Regions from separate parts of the Homo sapiens genome. Here region 1 is linked to region 2. Evidence: promoter capture Hi-C in 16 types of primary human blood cells and fetal thymus (Javierre and others, 2016). All regions are on one chromosome and are shown on one strand. The core of a region is centred on a gene start or on the middle of the fragment in contact, and the rest is flanking DNA. Distances in the headings are between cores, read along the strand shown.

The links. Contacts are between HindIII fragments. The CHiCAGO score rates a contact against its expected background, and 5 or more counts as called.
Region 1: a contact is called between a fragment that was not itself captured here and the fragment with the promoter of SELENOT in region 2, in 1 of 17 cell types (fetal thymus). The highest score is 6.7, in fetal thymus.

The regions. Positions count from the first base shown.
Region 1 is chr3:152,268,049-152,273,410 of GRCh38, reverse strand. It overlaps MBNL1 (muscleblind like splicing regulator 1), which reads right to left and starts at 4,482. Exons shown (of 10, transcript NM_021038.5): 1 at 4,319-4,482. MBNL1-AS1 (MBNL1 antisense RNA 1) reads left to right here and starts at 3,785. Exons shown (of 2, transcript NR_027038.1): 1 at 3,785-3,983; 2 at 4,339-5,362. RefSeq lists silencers at 4,035-4,144, 4,545-4,594, 4,645-4,704 and enhancers at 3,595-4,436, 4,895-4,994, 4,437-5,279. The HindIII fragment of the contact is 379 bases long and covers 1,242-1,620 here.
Region 2 is chr3:150,599,523-150,604,845 of GRCh38, reverse strand. SELENOT (selenoprotein T) reads right to left here and starts at 1,525. Exons shown (of 6, transcript NM_016275.5): 1 at 1,347-1,525. The coding sequence starts at 1,483. It overlaps LOC124900547 (a long non-coding RNA gene), which reads left to right and starts at 1,663. Exons shown (of 2, transcript XR_007096128.1): 1 at 1,663-1,902. RefSeq lists enhancers at 1,067-1,366, 641-1,414, 1,387-1,536, 1,657-1,736, 4,745-4,954 and 1 more. The HindIII fragment of the contact is 3,294 bases long and covers 1-2,053 here.

The DNA.
Region 1 (5,362 bases), core at 182-2,681, 1.7 Mb before region 2:
TGGTAATATGTAGAAAACTATAACCATGTATTTACTATTTTTTTCCTCAAGGATGTATCTGTAATGCTTATATAAACGTTTATTTTTTATAATATGAAAAACACTACGTAAAAACCGATTTCTCTACCTCAAATTTAAAAATAAAAAATATGTCTAGAGACAGTTAATGCCATATGCCAATAGCTCTTCTTGAATCCTCTGCCTTGCAATCAATAATTCTCCAACCATTAGTGAATATGCTCCATGACTCATCAGAAACAATATACAAAGTTAATGGGGATCATTCTTCCCCTCACCCTCCACACACGCACTGACACTAATGGAAGCTATGCCTCATCTAGTGGAAGACAGACTCAAGATGGCACCAAGCTGAGGCAACTCTTCTTGAGGCTCTATATACAAACTAGCTAACCTCCCCACGAAGAATCCACAACATCCATTTTACATTTTTTGGCATCCTTCGAGAAAATAATAGTAAGCATACTTTATATGGCTAGAAAAGAACCACATTTTTTTCAGCTTAACACTCACTGTGAATGGCAAAATGTACTTCAGTTATGAAAATATCTGAAAGGAATGTTTCCAGGACCTATGCCATTGTGCTTTGTTTACCAGTCAGATGCCTTCTCAAGAATGTGTTCAAATTATAAAGACAGTGTCTCCATGTATAGAAATTCTTCAGAGCCCATAATGTTACGTTAGAAACACATTTTCACCTTTGCTAATATTCAAAACAATACCCTCCTATCTGCAGGTAAAAATCTTTCATTCTTATGAATGCAGCAATCTTTTATTAACATTTGCTCAGGACTTTGGATATGGGTTTTTTTTTTTAACTTTCTAAAGAAAGTTCTAGCAAAAGAAAACACATATTAAGTATTTGAAGATAATTGCTATTTACTAAAATCTCTATTTTAAAATAATTTTAGTGACTCGTTTATGTTTGGTAACTTCAGGACAATGATAACTACAGTGTCTCTAAAATGTTCCTAAGTAACAATCATACTCTATTTTGGCCTTTGAGAGGTGTTAAGACTCATTCTCTAATTATAAGTTTTTCTCTATTATTACTACCTCACCATCAAATCTCTAAACTAAATAGCAGCTTTGAGGAAATAAAAATAGATGTTAGGTGGTGTGTTTTCTCAAATTTTGGTTACAATGGATAAGAAAGACGAGGTATTTCTATGTATAATAAAATAAGCCAATTTTATTGTTTTGACCAGCAAAATCTTTAAGCTTTCTCCCAGAATATTGTTTTCCTGCTTTATCCTAGAACAACACTGTCCAAAATAAATACGATGTTAGCCACATTTGTTATATTTTCTAGACACCATGAAAGAGAGAGAGAGAGAGAGAGAGAGAGAGAGAAAAGAAACAGGTGAAGTTAATCTAGTAAGATCTTCTATTAGAACCAATATATCAAAAATTATCATTAAAACATATCATAAATATAAAAATATTAATCAGATGTTTTACTTTCTTCCCCTCATATAAAGTTTTCAAAACCGGTAGTATTTTACACTTCTCAATCTGGACAAGACACATTTCAAGTGCTCAACAGCCACATGTGGCTACTGTACTGGACAGCACATTCTAGATTTCCAAACATATGAAGCTTTTTGGCCTAAAAAAACCATACACTTTAAAATCTTTCTATGTCACATTCTCTATGATCCATATGGTTGATGGGATTTTATTTTGGGCCAATCACTTCGTGAACCTATTTCACTTCTTTCCTCCACTCTTTTGACTCTCATATCTACTACCCACCCTAATGCCTTTGCATACAGAATTTTAAAAACCCAATCACCTATTCTTTTCAGCTTCTCCTAACCAAGACCTGAGATGTTCTCTAATCCGCACATCTATCACCAAGCAGAAAGCCAGAAGGTGCAGCAAGATTATTTATTCTCTGTTTCCATATAGATCTATCAAATACAGGCCTAATGTATGGCAACAGTGACAAATGCAAGGGCATTTTTTTCTTATAATGAAGATAAGGCATTTTATATAATAAAGTAACACACCCTTCCTCAATGAGAAATACAATTTTCAATGAGAAATATAATTTTACTCTTTTTTTTTCCCCCAGGAGAAATTTTGGGTTAGTCTGTTCTTGTTCTGGAACAAAACCCAGTGTTTCATTTCATAGGAATTCTGTGCCCAAAGGAAGAACAGAATGTTGGAATCAAAATTTAATGAATTCAACTTGGAGTCTAACTTTGCCTCAAATGTGGAAATGTAAACACAAGCAATAATATCTCAAACCATATAACACTTCAGTTTCTCTTTGGCATGACTGCGCAGAGTACCACACTTGATGTGTATCTACACACAAATTTGTTCACAGTTACATAAGGAAAAAAATTAAACTAGGCATATGTGAGGTTTTTCTGAGTCTCTTAGTAATAATGAAATCTGATTATTATGTCTTAAGTGACACTATAATTATAGATGAACAGGTTTTCTGTTGCTGACCCAACCTGTTCCTTAAAACACAAAAGGCAACTTTTGTAGTCTTCAGCAAGGAAACCCCCCATTAAACAAATAAGACTAAAAAAGCTATGCCTACATTTTCAAAGAAGACCTAACAATATAATAATAATAATAAAGTAACTCCCATGCAAATACACAAAACAGATAAAAACTAGAACATTAGGTTTTCTAAAGAAGTTTAGCCTTAGTTGTCACCAACTTTAAGAAAGCAAGATACAAGTGACAGCGATGTGCATTCTCAGGCTACAAAATAACTTATTCAGTGCCTCTATCTATAACTACATCTAAGACATTCTAAGTATTGAACTGCACATTCCTGGGATAAATTTTACAGTCGTTGAACTTTCATTTTCTCTCTGGGTGATAATATTTTATCTCAACAGCAAGGAGAAACACCAACACACTTAGGAATCCACACAGAGAGATAACTGTGGAGTGGCTCTCTTGTGCTGGTATAGAATACTTAGGTACTAAACACCCTCTGTGTATAAACAGACACTGTGTTCAAACCCAGGAGGAAGGGACATAGTGTCCACCGGTGTAGTATTTCAAAGCACGCTGCAGAGGGCTCGAAAGTCTAAAAGCATTAATTATGACTTCTCTCCTAGCGTATTAATTTAAGAAACTCCTCAGAGTATATGGCAGAGTTTGCCATCCATCTGCTATGACTTGTGCCTGTGCTGGTGGGCACACAAAGTGAAGTCAGCGGCAACAACCTTTCCGGCAGCTTCTTAACTTTAATCCTGGGGAGACATACTCCACGGAAATACACCCCAGAATCCCAACAGCCGCATACTCTCCCGGCCCCAGAGAGCCTTAAGAATACAATATTACTCTGGCAGCAACACCCCTGTAGTTGTAAAGTGCTGTGCGAGGGGAAGGCATAAGCGCCACCATATACCTGCTCGTGTTACAGGCTCTGGAATCAAAGTATTCTCACATGACACATTACTACCAATAACAGATTCCGGCTCCGTTTAAAAAAAAAAAAAAAAGTTGGGGGGTGGCTACATATTTGTCCTGCTTTTGTCTAAAAACCAGAACCCAAGTACTAACTACTTTTCATTCTTTTCAACCTTTCATGAAAGCAATTCAACCAACTGCGGCTCCACCCAAAGAGCTTCTATACTTACTTTTCTTACAGTTTTTGAGTGACGCACTACAAAACGATGAAAAAAAAAAGAAGAAGAAGAAAAGGAGGAGGCAGCCCTCTCCTACAGGGCGTCTTCCGCCCTGTAAACTTGGCAAAAGGCAAACTGGCCTGAAATACAGCACTCTCCATATAAGGCAGCCCAGCTAAACATGTCATGCGTAATTTATGGGTAGCAAGCAGAGAATTAACCTTTGCGTGCACATATTTGGCCCAGATGAAAACCGGGCGGGATGGCAGCCCCGGGGCCAGGGATGCGGGAGCCGCCGGGAAGACCCGCGCGCCGCTCGACTCAGAGGGACTCACACCTTCCCCCGACAAAGGTCATTAAGTTGTGAGTACACTTGCACGCACCTGTTTCTCTTCTCGCCCCCCTGTTTCTCCCTGGGTCCCGCTGGGCTGCCAAGCCGTGCGCGGGCTGTGCCGTGACAGCGTCCGCAGAGCCCGCGGCAGGGAAGGGCGCAGGAGCGGCTGCGGCTCACCCTCCCGCCTTCCCCCGGGCAGGAGGTGCTGAGGGACGCGAAACCAACTACCGCGAGCGGCCCGCCCCTGCCCGGGAGAACCGCGGCCGGCGAGCACCTCCTCGCACTTCCTCCTTCAGCCACGGGCAGACCCGCCGGAGTCCGAACAATGAAGCGGCGCGGGGAAACTGTGAAAATGGAAACTTACCTCTCACATTTTTTTTTCAGAGGCGGCCCCACTGTCGACCAAGTGCCCAAGGCATTGTGGGAGTCATGATTCCAAGATGCCCGCGACGGAAAATGGAACTTGTCAGCTCCTTGTCATGGGAGCATTGTGGGCGCCACAACTCATTCAGCTGCAGTGAAAAGACTGTTGCATGTCGCTGTGCAGCCTCTTATCGCCGAGGTCTGGCTTCCGCTGCTGCTGCGCGGCCCCTCCCCCGCCCGCCCAGCCCCACCAGGAAGCCCAGGGCGGACTCGTCGAGCTCCTAATGCACGCGGCGGCGAGAAAAACGCTCTTCAACTTTCCGCCGGCGCCCTCCCGCGCTTCCCCGGGCCACAGGGTCGCCTGTCAACCGGACAGAGCCCGCAAGAGCGGGTCATGGGCGGTCGCCCAGCGGCGCCGAGAGCAGGAGGAAGCCGGAGCCCGCGCGGGCGCCGTGGATCCCCTCGGCCTCCCGTTGGTATCTTCCATCTCATGCGTTCAGCATTGTAACCTCGCGGCGGGCGTGCAGACCGGACGCCCTCCCGCTTCTTCTACCGACTGCTAGGCACACCAGTGGGTTCATTTTGAAAGAGGCCCTTGCACCGGGCTTTGCAAGGAAGCCGGCAAGGTTAGATTGAAGGTTAGAAGCCAATTAGACTAGAATCCTGCGATCTGGTGAGACTGCCGCCTTAAAATGCACCAAACAGTTTTTGAACCTGGAGGGCTAACAGGCGGGAAAAACATCTGCAAGACTGCCACCGTGTATTTTTCTCAAGTAACAGGCTATCCACAGTTTTGGAATTCCTTAGTGAAACTGTCACACAGGCACAAACACATGTCAGCTTTCCTTCTAGTTTGTAAATAATATTTGTAATTTACAGGCCACTGTATTCCCAACTTTGCACCATGTGATTTAGAGAAAGCAAAGCTCCCTCTTTAAAAATAATATGTTACTTCTGAAATACCGGGATATTCCACGGCAAGTAAGCCATATTGTCGCCAGAGCAAATAAACCGCAGCCCCATATCATAATTCACTGGGTGCTAT
Region 2 (5,323 bases), core at 276-2,775:
CAGGCTGGTCTCGAACTCCCGACCTCAGGTGATCCGCTAGCCTCGGCCTCCAAAGTGCTGGGATTACAGGCGTGAGCCAGCGAGCCCGGCCTTGTTTGTTTTTAATCAGGAGAAATTGCAATGTTTTAGTTTTCACTCAAAAAAATAAAGTCTCACCATCTTATTTTCTAACTCAAACATCACCTTAAGCCGATTTTTAAAAATTATTTTAAAGGTTTGCTTGGTCTTCAGTGAGTAAGTAAAAAGCTAGTTGGAGAAGTAGAAAATCAAAACTTTAATATACTAATACATGAAGTTCTTAAAAGAAGGTTTTAAATGAATGATGTCCAACACCAACATTCCAATGTATCCGGACTCTGATGATTTACTAATCTGGCTATTCTGGGATGGTCGGTTTATCCTGAGAAAATGTCATCTTTGGAGGTGTAAGATTCTCATTTCTATAATTTTACAATTTTGGTGTTTTTTCCCCCATCTTCAGAGCCTTTCAATCCCCACCCGCAACCCCACTTACCGTATAAAATGCATCATTGCCCTGCTTCTAACGATTAGGTTAAAAACAAAATCATTTAAAGAACACTGTCGAAAACTGCCGAGATCTGCTGGATACACAAGACAACTGAAAGGTAGAAAGAGATGCCAGAGCAGGCAACTCCTGGGAGGCAGGTGAGGAGGGAATGCGAGCGAACTGTCAATGTTTAGAAGAACAACGTGCTCCTTTTCTGACACTTTGGAAATGGCAAACAGAACCAGCATCCCCAGACCTTCCTTCCACCCCCTCCAGCTGTCAGACGCCCCATTCGCAAACTCAACAGTCCCCCCAGCAAGTTCAGGAGAAAAACGGCGTCTGTCACTCCCGGATCCTCTCCAATGACCCGAATTAACCTTCATCTAGCCAGGCAGCGAAGCCGCCCGGCATTACCCCGGAAAAGAGGGCAGAAAAAGTGAACTGACAAACGGTTGGCGCTCCTCCGCCGACGCGGCGCCTACTCATCCCCATCTCCGCAGGCAGCCGGGGTGGCTATGGCGTGACGCCGCCAACCAGTCCTCCGTACTAACAGGTGTCCCCCAGTCTTCGCCTTTCAGCGTTTAACCTTCTCGCGCCCTCCTTCCCCATTCCCACTGTTCTAGGAGGCAAAAAACAAGTGAGCAGTTATACCTGGAAAAGGAGGGCGGCCTGACCGCGCTAAGGGGCCGCGAGAAGGCTGGCTGTGGAAGGGCGCCGGCACAGTTCTACGAGGCCAGCGAAGATGCGGCCATTTAGGCCGCGAAGCCGGGGCCTCGCGTAGCCAATGGCGCCGAGCAGAGGCGCGGCGGGGTGGCCGGGGCCCAGTGCACATACTCACCAAATCTGGAACTTGAGCAGCGGCCCCGTGGCGTACTGCATCTTTAATCTCTTGCTGGGCACGCCGCCCAGATTGGCCGAGGCCTCGCTCCGGACCATCGCAGACGCCGCCACTAGGAGAAGCAGCAGAAGCCTCATCTTAAATGAGCCAGCCACTTCGGCCGCCCTCAGACAGACTGCAGCCAGCCCAAAGCCCAGGAGCGAGCTGCTCCCCACTGCGCAGGCGCGATCAGCCAAGGTCGGGGGAGGGGAGCAGTAATGCGCCTGCGCGGCCCGGCGCCCGCGCACACTCCTGGAGTGAAGAGCCGACCTGTTTCACTGTCCTGACTCACCACCATCTTGGTAGTGTGCAAGACTCTGGGACGGCATGAGAAAGGCAGAAAGGGAGCAAAGGAGCTGGTGGGGTGTCACAGGGCCTATGTATGAGGCAGATGTGAGTTCTGCATCCAGTTTTGCAATTTATCCATTTACCTGCCTGAGACTTGGAAACACCTACTTTATAGTCCTGATTCAAGTGTTGGCGGATGGAAGGGAGGAGACTCCTGACCCTCAGAATGGTAATGCTGAAATTTTTTGGGTGCGCTGTTATGGCCTTTTCTTTGATCTTACAATATTGCTTTCTCCTGAAAGAATATTAAACATAAGTTTTAGGAAACCTTTGGACAATTCCAAACATATCCAAAAATAGAATAACTACCTTAGCAAGCTTTAACAGTTACTATACATTTTGACAATCTTGATTTGTCTATATCTCTAAACACTTCTTCCCTTCCTAGGCATATTTGGAAGCAAATCTCAGACATCATATCATTTCATCTGTATATATATATTTTTAAACACGGTCTCACTGTCACCCAGGCTGGAGTTCAGTGGCGTGATCATAGCTTACTGCAGCCTCACACCCCTGGGCTCAAGCAGTCCTGCCTCAGCTTCCCAAGTGGTTAGGAATACAGGCACAGGCAACTATGCCTGGCTTACAATTATTTAAGCACATATTTCTAAAAAAGAATTATTATTAAAAAGAAAAAAAATTGACCACAGTGTTTCACATGTCCGTGTGAAGAGACTACCAAACAGGCTTTGTGTGAGCAACACAGCTGTTTATTTCACCTGGGTGCAAGCGGGCCGAGTCCGAAAAGGGAGTCAGCAAAGGGTGGTGGGATTATCATTGGTTCTTATAGGTTTTGGGATAGGCGGTGGAGTTAAGAGCAATATTTTGGGGGCAGGGGTTGGATCTCACAAAGTACATTCTCAAGGGTGGGGAGAATTACAAAGAACCTTCTTAAGGGTGGGGGAGATTACTGATCAACAAAGTACATTGATCAGTTAGGGTGGGGCAGAAACAAATCACAATGGTGGAATGTTATCAGTTAAGGCTATTTTCACTTCTGTGGATCTTCAGTTGCTTCAGGCCATCTGGATGTATATGTGCAGGTCACTGGGGATATGATGGCTTAGCTTAGGCTCAGAGGCCTGACATTCCTGTCTTCTTATATTAATAAGAAAAATAAAACAAAATAGTGGTAAAGTGTTGGGGCAGCGAAAATTTTTGGGGGTGGTATGGAGAGATAATAGGCGATGTTTCTCAGGGCTGCTTCGAGCGAGATTAGGGGCGGCGTGGGAACCCACAGTGGGAGAGATTCAACTGAAGAAAGATTTGGGGGTAAGGGGTGATATTGTGGGGTTGTTAGAAGGAGCATTTGTCGTATAGAATTATTGGAGATGGCCTGGATGCAGTTTTGTATGAATTGAGAAACTAAATGAAAGACACAAGGTCCGAATAAAAGAAGGAGAAAAATAGGTATTAAAGGACTAAGAATTGGGAGTACCCAGGACATCCAATTAGAGAGTGTCCAAGGGGGTTCAACGTTGTTGTCTGCTTGGTTGGAGAGTTTTTGGGCTCTATCTCTATCCTTAAGTTTTTTTATGTTGTCATATACCAGGCCAGATTGATTTAGGTAAAAACAACACTCTTCATTTAAAAATATACAAAGTCCTCCTTTTTCAGCAGTGAGTAAGTCGAGGCTTCAGTGATTTTCAAGGAAAGAGAGGAGGTGGGAAGGCCAAACTGAGGAATTATGTCTGACAGAAGGGAAGAAATGACCGCGGTGGCCTTCTTAGACCCTGTGGGAAAGGCCTCTACCCACCCAGTGAAATGTCTACCCAAACCAAGAGGTATTTTAGTTTCCTGACTTGAAGCATGTGAGTAAAGTCAATTTGCCAGTCCTCGGCGGGGCAAATCCCCGAGCTTGATGTGTAGGGAAGGGAGGGGGCCTGAACAATCCCTGCAGGGTAGTAGAATAGCAGATGGAACATTGAGAAGTGATTTCCTTGAGGATAGATTTCCACGATGGAAAGGAAATGAGAGGTTCTAAGAGACGGGTTAGCAGCTTGTAACCTACATGGAAGTGGTTATGAAATGACGACAGAATAGAATGGGCCTGTGAGGCTGGAAGGAGATATTTTCCTTGGTCCAAGAACCATTTGCCTTGTGTGGGAAGAGATTGATAGGCGGAAGTTTCAGTGGGGGAGTAGGTGGGAGTGACCAGATGAGAAGGAGAAAAACTGCCATGAAGGATAGAAGTTAGAATGCTAGCTGCTTTTTAGCTACCTTATCAGCATAAGCGTTGCCTTGAGCAGTGAGATCTGATGCCTTGTGATGGCTGTTGCAGTGAGACTCCACTTCCTTTGGAAGTACGGCCTTGCTCAGAGGCCTGACACACAGTATCATTGTCTCACCTTTAAAAAATAGTAATTGCGTAATATTAGTCAGTGTTCAAATATCCTGTGGTCTCAATAACTACTTATTTTCCTACTGTTCATTTGTTAAAATCAGAATCAAAATGAAATTTATACATTGTCATTGGTTGATGTGTCTTTTAGGACAAGTCAAAGACTTTTAAGACCAGGAACACACCAGTAATTGAAAAATTTTGTTTATCATTAATTGCAGCAAGAGGGATGCTATGGTTTGAATATGTCCCCCAAAAAGCATATGTTGGAAACTTAATGCCCAATGTAACAGTGTTGGGAGATGGGGCCTAATGGGAGGGCTCCACCCTCATGAATGGATTAATGCCAATTATGAAAGGGCTTAAGGCTTCGATTTCTATCTGTTGCTCTTTCACTCTTGCACTCTCCTGCACATTTACCTTCCTCCATTGGATAACAACACAAAGCCCCCATAAGATGTGGAGCCCTTGATCTTGGAATTTTCAGCTTCCAGAACTATAAGAAATAAATCTCTGTCTTTATTAATTACCCAATCTCAGTTATTCTGTTATAGCAGCCCAAGATGGACTAAGACGGGGGAACGCACACCATGGGAAACCATGAGAAGACTCAATTAGGAGGTGTTAGGATCTGGGGCTTGATTGGATGATTTGGAAAATGGAGCTGGGGTGCTGAGCGGTTCTATTATCAGAGATGTTCAAACCAGAGTGACTTCATCTTGAGTAGGGACTGAGTAAAATGAGTTGGAGACCTGCTGGGCTGCATTCCCAGGAGGTTAGGCATTCTTAGTCACAGGATGAGATAGGAGGTCAGCACAAGATTCAAGTCACAAAGACCCAGCTGATAAAACAGGATACGGTAAAGAAGCCAAAACCAAGATAGAGACAAAAGTGACTTCTTGCTAATTATAATATATTCACATGCTATCTCCTTTACTGCTTATTGTATGCTAATTTAACACACTAGCATGCTAAAGGACACCCCCACCAGTGCAGTGAAAGTTTACAAATGCCATGGCAACACCTGGAAACTACCCTATATGGTTGAAAAGAAAGAGGAACTCTTTATTCTGGGGAATTCTTGCCCTTTTCCCCAGAAAACTCATGAATAATTCACCCCTTGTTTGGCATATAATCAAGAAATAACCATAAAAATAGCCAACCAGCAGCCCTCAGGGCTGCTCTGTATATGCAGTAGCCATTCTTTTATTCCTTTACTTTCTTAATAAACTTGCTTTCACTTTAC